Linked DNA regions of Homo sapiens: region 1 is linked to region 2. The links are contacts of gene promoters, found by promoter capture Hi-C in blood cells and fetal thymus (Javierre and others, 2016). All regions are on one chromosome and are shown on one strand. The core of a region is centred on a gene start or on the middle of the fragment in contact, and the rest is flanking DNA. Distances in the headings are between cores, read along the strand shown.

Evidence for each region. Contacts are between HindIII fragments. The CHiCAGO score rates a contact against its expected background, and 5 or more counts as called.
Region 1: a fragment that was not itself captured here is called in contact with the fragment with the promoter of DNAJC28 in region 2 in 1 of 17 cell types (total B cells); the score reaches 5.2 in total B cells.

Annotation. Positions count from the first base shown.
Region 1 is chr21:33,194,294-33,198,087 of GRCh38, forward strand. It overlaps LOC105372787 (a long non-coding RNA gene), which reads right to left and starts at 1,224. Exons shown (of 3, transcript XR_937675.3): 1 at 1,018-1,224. The HindIII fragment of the contact is 476 bases long and covers 1,485-1,960 here.
Region 2 is chr21:33,490,192-33,494,017 of GRCh38, forward strand. It overlaps DNAJC28 (DnaJ heat shock protein family (Hsp40) member C28), which reads right to left and starts at 1,525. Exons shown (of 2, transcript NM_001040192.3): 1 at 1,411-1,525. The HindIII fragment of the contact is 6,958 bases long and covers 1-3,826 here.

The sequences.
Region 1 (3,794 bases), core at 473-2,972, 300 kb before region 2:
TTAAATTTTAATTTCTGATAAACAATGAATTTGTTTAGTATAAATAAATATGTCGTAAATATTGTATGGGACATACTAAAAACATTACAATATAATTTAGTACATGTACTATGTACTAGTATATGTACTAAATTTTATATATGTGTATTTTAATATTAAAAGTTAGGCCAGGCACGGTGCTCACGCCTGTAATCCCAGCATTTTGGGAGGCCGAGGCGGCCGGATCACCTGAGGTCAGGAGTTCAAGACCAGCCTGGCCAACATGGCGAAACCCTGTCTCTACTAAAAATACAAAAATTAGCTGGGTATGGTGGCAGGTGCCTGTAATCCCAGCTACTCAGGAGGCTGAGGCAAGAGAATCTCTTGAACCAGGGAGGCGGAGGATGCAGTGAGCCGAGATCGCACCACGGCACTCCAGCCTGGGCAACAGAGTGAGATTCTGTCTCAAAACAAAAAAAAAAAGGAAAAAGAAAAAGAAAAAAAGTTAGTATGTTATACCCAACACATATTCAAGGTTGATCTGAAATTCAAATGCAACTAGGTATCTTGTATTTTTGCTAAATGTGGCAACCCTCGCACACAGCGATTCGCTAGTGGCTTTGGAGGGCAGAGGAGGTAGTTCCCTGAGCCCTCCACGTGACTTTTCCTTCTGTCCTCCCCTTCTCTGCTCAGAGGCCCCTTCCTGGGAGAAGGCTTCGCTGATCACTCTGTATACCACTGCACCCTTTTCCCACACTCCCGGCCCCCTTAGCCTGCCTTTTCCTCCATAACTTATCATTGGATGACATACTACATACTTTGAGTAAATGATTTTTTTCATCTTTATTCTCAGCCCTTTGTATTATGTCTGCCACAGAGTGGGCCTTAAAAAATATTTGTGGAACTGCATGAATGAGAGTGACTCCATGGACAAGGATAAAACACTGAAAGTAAAATAAAGGCAGAACTAAGGTAAATGAGTATTGCCATTTCGACTCACCTGATAGATCTGTGTGTTTTAGTCAGTGCAAAACTCACCTGGCGAAGGGAACACCAATGAATAAGATGACGATTAGGTAGGTCCAAGGTGGGGCCCAAGATTCTGTAGCCCTACCACGTTCCCAGGTGATGCCGATGTAGCAAAGAGAGTCCTTGAAGAGAGGCAGGGCACGGTGCTCACGCCTGTAATCCCAGCACTTTGGGAGGCTGAGGCAGGCAGATAGTTTGAAGCCAGAAGTTTGAGACCAGCCTGGGCAACATGGTGAAATCCAGTCTCTACCAAAAAATACAAAAGTTTATCAGGCATTGTAGCATACACCTGTAATCCTAGCTACTCAGGAGGCTGAGGCACGAGAATCACTTGAACCCAGGAGGCGGAGGTTGCAGTGAGCCAAGATCACACCACTGTACTCCAGCCTGGGTGACAGAGCAAGACTCCAACTCAAAAAAGAAAAAAAAAAAAAGAAAGAAAAAGAAAAAGAGAGAGAGAGAGAATCATTGAAGAAAGCTTGGATCCAGGTAAAAATAAAGAGCAGGACACAACCAGAAAAGTCTGTGGTTCTGTTATATCATTGGACAGTGTAATGAAATGTAATGTGTTTTAAAAAATAAAAATTCTATATTCCTAAATCTTGAATAGATTCCTATTTCAGAAACCATCCATTCTGATGAGTCTCCCTTAGCTCTGAAAGAAAGAGGATAAAAACCAAATACAAGAATAATAAAAACCACCTGTCCAAGATGAACTGGAGAAAGGGTGCTAATCTCCCTGCGACAACTCCTACAACTGTATTTGATCAGGATGATAAGAAAAGTTTTAACTCATGCCTCAAGCAGAGCCACAAGACCTGCCTTTTTTGATGACCTTGAATTCTACAACACAGGCTCCAAACCTCACATCTTGTCAACTCTCACCATGAGAAAAGTAGGAAACACTCTCTCACGTTCCCAAGTACTCACCATACCCCCCAAAATAAGTAAAAGCTTACTTTAAAAAATAATTTGTTTTCAGAGCAGAAATCTTCTAAAAGTTGAATTCTGATTCCGTACACACCTGCGGAGAGGTACTTGCCATGCCCACTGTCTAATATGCTTCTCTTTCTATGAACTAGGGTAGGGGTTACAAATAGCTGCCATAGAGTTACTGTCATTATCAGCCTGCAATCTGTGAGCAGCTGTTAAAAACCCACATTTTGTCTCAATTGTAATCATTCAAACAAATAATGCTTACCTACAGTTCAAAAGAAGTCAGTCTGGAATTAAGTGCTGTTCATACCAATTATGTTTCTTCTTTCAGATGTATGGAAAGGGAAAATAAATTATCCATTAAATTGCAGATATATGTAAAGATGCTTTTTGTAGTAAAAGCCAAAACAACTTGAATCTGACCTGTGATTAGAAATAACAGACATTTGAAATTCAGTAACTTAATTCATTGACAATATCACCAGGTTAGTTATCAATGATTCATTCAGTTTTCTTTTAAGCATTATTAATTGCTTGATACCATTTAGGATCAGGAAACCCTTAGTGCAGTGAAAATTGTAAAAGTTTATGACCTGGGAGGCCCGTGTCTAGCCATGCCTCTGTCAGGAATCTGTGGTGTGACTTCTGACAAGAGTTTTATCCCTCTGGATCTGTTTCCTTGGCTGGAAAGTGAGGAAATCGATCCAAAGATTACCTCGCAGATTCTCTCCAACTCTGACATTCTATCATTTCACACTCACTTTAAAATAGACTGTCGGCGACCCTACGCCAGTTTTCCTTGAGAAACAGCGCCACCTTCAGGTCATAATAACCATAAGAGAGCTGACCGTGAAGGTGCTTCTCCGGCAGGAGCGATTTGCCCTGATCCACAGAAACCCTTCCCCCGCAGTCCTCTGGGATGCGGTCACACACTTGTGAGTCTGCCGCTGGGTTAAGATCAATGCGTATGGACATGGAGCCAAGCTGAGCTAACTGGCCCACAAGGGACAGATGCATGACCTTGGCCTAATTATCACAGCTCCAGCTAACAGTTCGCCCACAGCAAAGCTCCTTGTGGAACCCTATAAAGAAGGAAAGGAAGCGAGGGATATGCTGGATGAACTAAACTCTACAAAACAATGAAAATGGACACACCTCTTCTTCAGGCAATTCCACTTAAGATAGTTTCCAGCTGTTCTTATTTTAGCAAGATATCTACTTGGATATACTTTCATTAAGAAAAATGACATAGTGAACTCTGAAGTAAATATCAGATTTTTTTCACCCAGCAAATATTTATTGAGCAACCAACCACTTGAATGCCAGCACCGTGCTAAAAGCTCTCACAAAATTACTTTTATTGAATTTCCACAACAGCCCTTGTGAGAGAGGAATTCATATCTTCATTTTTCAACACAAGGAAGTTGAGAATGAGAGAGGCCCAGAAACAGCAGATCTGGCAACAAGCTTGAATATGCAGACACAAACATTCCACACAGTCCTCCTCTGAGGACACGACGCAACTGCTCCTTTTCAAGAGCTTATCACTTGGCACAGTGTGGCACCAACTGCAATCAGCAGTGCAGAGGCAAAGGCCGCTAGGGAACTCAGTTTATTTCTCTGCAGTGTGATCTGTATGCAGAAAATGGCCCTATCTTTGCCAGCCATCCTCTGCCATACCTCCCTAACCCACTGATGGATGCTGGGCAGGATAAGGGGGATAAGTTAATTTGTTCCTAAGTGTCTAAACAAGGATCCTTCTTAGAAACAGTGGATATTTAAGGTTGTCCCTTTGATCACATCCCAACAATCCCTAAATTCCATAGGCTTTCTTGGTTGGGAAAGAGGCA
Region 2 (3,826 bases), core at 275-2,774:
TCTGCCTCCCGGGTTCAAGCGATTCTCCTGCCTCAGCCTCCCAAGTAGCTGGGATTACAGGTGCACGACACCACTCCTGGCTAATTTTTGTATTTTTAGTAGAGACGGCGTTTCACCGTGTTAGCCAGGATGGTCTCGATCTCCTGACCCTGTGATCTGCCCGCCTCGACCTCCCAAAGTGCTGGGATTACAGGCGTGAGCCACCGCACCCAGCCCCACCAGCTGCATTCTTATAGCTATATTTCACTGATGTGGGCAGAAAAGTGGAAGCTGATGAAGTTTAGTGTTAACATATTGTGGGGCCAGGCACGGTGGCACACGCCTGTAATCCCAGTACTTTAGGAGGCCGAGGTGGGTGGATCACCTGAGGTCAGGAGTTCGAGATCAGCCTGGCTAACATGGCAAAACCCTGTCTCTACTAAAAATACAAAAATTAACTGGAGGTTGCAGTCCCAGCTACTCGGGAGGCTGAGGCAAGAGAATCGCTTGAACCCGGGAGGTGGAGGTTGCAGTGAACCGAGATCGTGCCACTGCACTCCAGCCTGGGCAACAGAGTGAGACTCTGTCTCAAAAAAATATAGATAGATAGAATCTGGATTCTACCCCTCACTAACTAACCGTATATTTTACAAGTGGAAAGTTCTTAGAGATCATCTAATCCAATCTTCTCATTTAATGAGAAAACGTAGGTCCGGAAGGTTAAGCAATTTAACCAAGTCCCATAACAAGGTGTAAGCAAAATGGTTAGGGGTGGGCACAGTAAAAAAGGAGGCTTGCTTAACTGTCTATACCTCCAGCCGATTATAAACTGCACGAGAGTCTGCATCATCTCAAGAAGTCTTCTCATAAGACGACTTATGGACAAGGTACGTACCTGGTCTGATACTGGATTGAATAGAATCAAGTGTCCAAAAGACTTTAAGCTCCACAGCTCGCTAGGAAGGAGCTATCTGCCAGAGGCCAGAAAAACCATGATGAATTGTGAGGCCTCCCAACACGTTTGCTGCTATTGCAATAACATGGTCTCGAAGAGGAGGAAGACTTGTACACTGACAATGGCCAAAAAATACTGGAAGTGGCTTAATTGGAATTGGGATATATAAACGCTAAAACGGAGCTCCTGAGACCCCCTATTTTCTAGGCAATCGGTGCCAACGGTCTGGGAGCCGGCTGCGAAGGTGGTTATCATGGCAAGGGAGGTCGGTCCTGCCCCGCCCCCTCCTCACCTGCGCAGACCTGGGGTAGGGGTTCCGCGGCTCCCGCCCCCCTGCCGCGCCTCTGCGCATGCGTGCGCGGTCCGCCCTTCACTGCGGGTGTCCCTCCCACCGCCTCCAGCTGGTGCCTCCGCCGGGCTAGACCATTTGCCACTTTACACTGAGGGGCTCGGGGGTACGGAAGGCAGAATCGTACCTGATTGGGACAGGTGACCTTACCAGGAAAACGGACAATCTTCCGCCAAACGAACTTTACCCCGGAGGACCCAGGCAGGGCACCTCGGGAGCCTTCGTCCCGACCGGGGACCACCAGCTCCACCTCCGTCCCCGCCCCGAGCGGAGGTGGTCCGGCCGATTGGGATTGTGGGAGATGTAGTTCGCTAGAAGGGGCGATGTGCGCCTGCGCCTCTCGGGAGGGACTTAGGGGGCGTCGAAAATGATGTAAAGACCGAGTTGGCGGCGTGGGGAGTTGTGGCTCGGAGGGCGAGGGTAACTTTCTGGGGGCAGGGGAAGGCAAGGCTGTTTCCCCGGAACGGGACCGGAACAGGTTTATTCGGGGTCACAGAAGGAGTCACCTGCGCAGATACATGAGGCTTAAAACCTGCCCTTTTATTAATTCAAGTACTGTTGAGGGGCTGGCGACAGGCCAGAGGACAAAATCAAAATAGGGATCTTCTGGCTTGGAGTTCAACCACTGACGTGGGGACTGAGCATTTCCCCTCTCTGTACAGGAAGCAAGTTTTTTAACAAGGAAAAAGAAAAAGGATAAAAAGAAAAAGGCAGAGGCTTGGGAGTTTTCAGATCTGGGTTGAAAATCCTGTTTCTTCTGCTTGCACCTTAGGCAAGATACCTGCAAAATGAGAGTTGCAATAAATAGTAAACTATAGTAAATAGTATGCCATTGTGCTAAGTGCTTTATGTATATTCTCATTTACTTTTTTTTTTTTTTTTTTGAGACAGAGTCTCGCTCTGTCGCCCAGGCTGGAGTGTGGTGGCGCGATCTCGGCTCGCTGCAACCTCCACCTCCCGGGTTTAAGCTATTCTCCTGCCTCAGCCTCCCGAGTAGCTGGAATTACAGGCGCGCACCACCATGCCCAGCTAATTTTTTTGTATTTTTAGTGGAGACCAGGTTTCACCATGTTGGCCAGGCTGGTCTCGAACCCCTGAGCTAAGGTGATCTGCCTGCCTCGGCCTTTCAAAGTGCTGGGATTACAGGCATTCATTTAATCTTTACAACAGCCCTCTGAGATAAATGCTGTTATTTTCCCTATTTTACATATAATGAAATAATAATTGTATCAACTTCATTGACTTTTTTAGGGGGAGAATTACACAATGTATGTAAACCACTTGGCACTGTGCCTCGCACATTAAGCAATATTTTTTGTTATGACTGTGTCTCCTAAAAGGAGCCAGAAATAGGTATTAGCCTCCTCAGCTTCTACATCATAAACATTAGAATCATTTATTGCCATCTATGTAGGAACACAGAAAAAGATACAGTATAAACTCTGATTCTGAGGGCTTTAGTTATAAGCAAACAATCAACAAAATAACTCATGTGAAAGAAAATAGGATTTCTGGCCGGGCGCGGTGCTCACGCCTGTAATCCCAGCACTTTGGGAGGCCGAGGCGGGCGGATCACGAGGTCAGGAGATCGAGACCATCCTGGCTAACACGGTGAAACCCCGTCTCTACTAAAAATACAAAAAATTAGCCAGGTGTGGTGGCGGGCGCCTGTAGTCCCACCTGCTCGGGAGTCTGAGGCAGGAGAATGGCGTGAACCCGGGAGGCGGAGCTTGCAGTGAGCCTAGATCGTGCCACTGCACTCCAGCCTGGGCGACAGAGCCAGACTCCGTCTAAAAAAAAAAAGACCTGGCCACTAAAAAATTTTTAAAAAGAAAAATAAGGCCAGACGCAGTGCTCACGCCTGTAATCTCAGCACTTTGGGAGGCTGAGGCAGGTGGATAACCTGAGGTCGGGAGTTTGAGACCAGCCTGACCAACACGGAAAACCCCCATCTCTCTAAAAATACAAAAAATTAGATGGGCGTGGTGGCGCATGCCTGTAATCCCAGCTACTCGGGAGGCTGAGGCAGGAGAATCGTTTGAACCCTGGAGGTGGAGGTTGCAGTGAGCTGAGATTGCGCCACTGCACTCCAGCCCAGGTGACAGTGCGAGACACTGTCTCAAAAAAAAAAAAAGCCACCAAGCAAAACTTCCTAAAAGTTGCCAGTAGCCATCCCCCTCTTCTGCTTCCAGGCCCAGTAAGGTGCCTTATATCTCTCAATCTCATCCTTCTCCCAGCCTTGCTTCTAAATGCACTCCAAGGCCAGGCACAGTGGCTCATGCCTGTAATCCCAGCCCTCTGGGAGGCCCAGGTGGGAGGATCACTTGAGCCTAGGGATTTGAACCAACCTGGGCAACATAGGGAGACCCCATCTCTATTTATTTAAAAAAAAAGTAAAATTAAAATACACTCCAAGTGTCAACACTTCACGCAGAAAACAGAAATGTTGAAGTTAGCCTTGCTTCCCCAGCTGCTCAAGGACCTTTTGAAATCTTCAACTGAGTGCCCAGCGAAGGCTGGGGAAGGGGCGGGGACTGTCCATC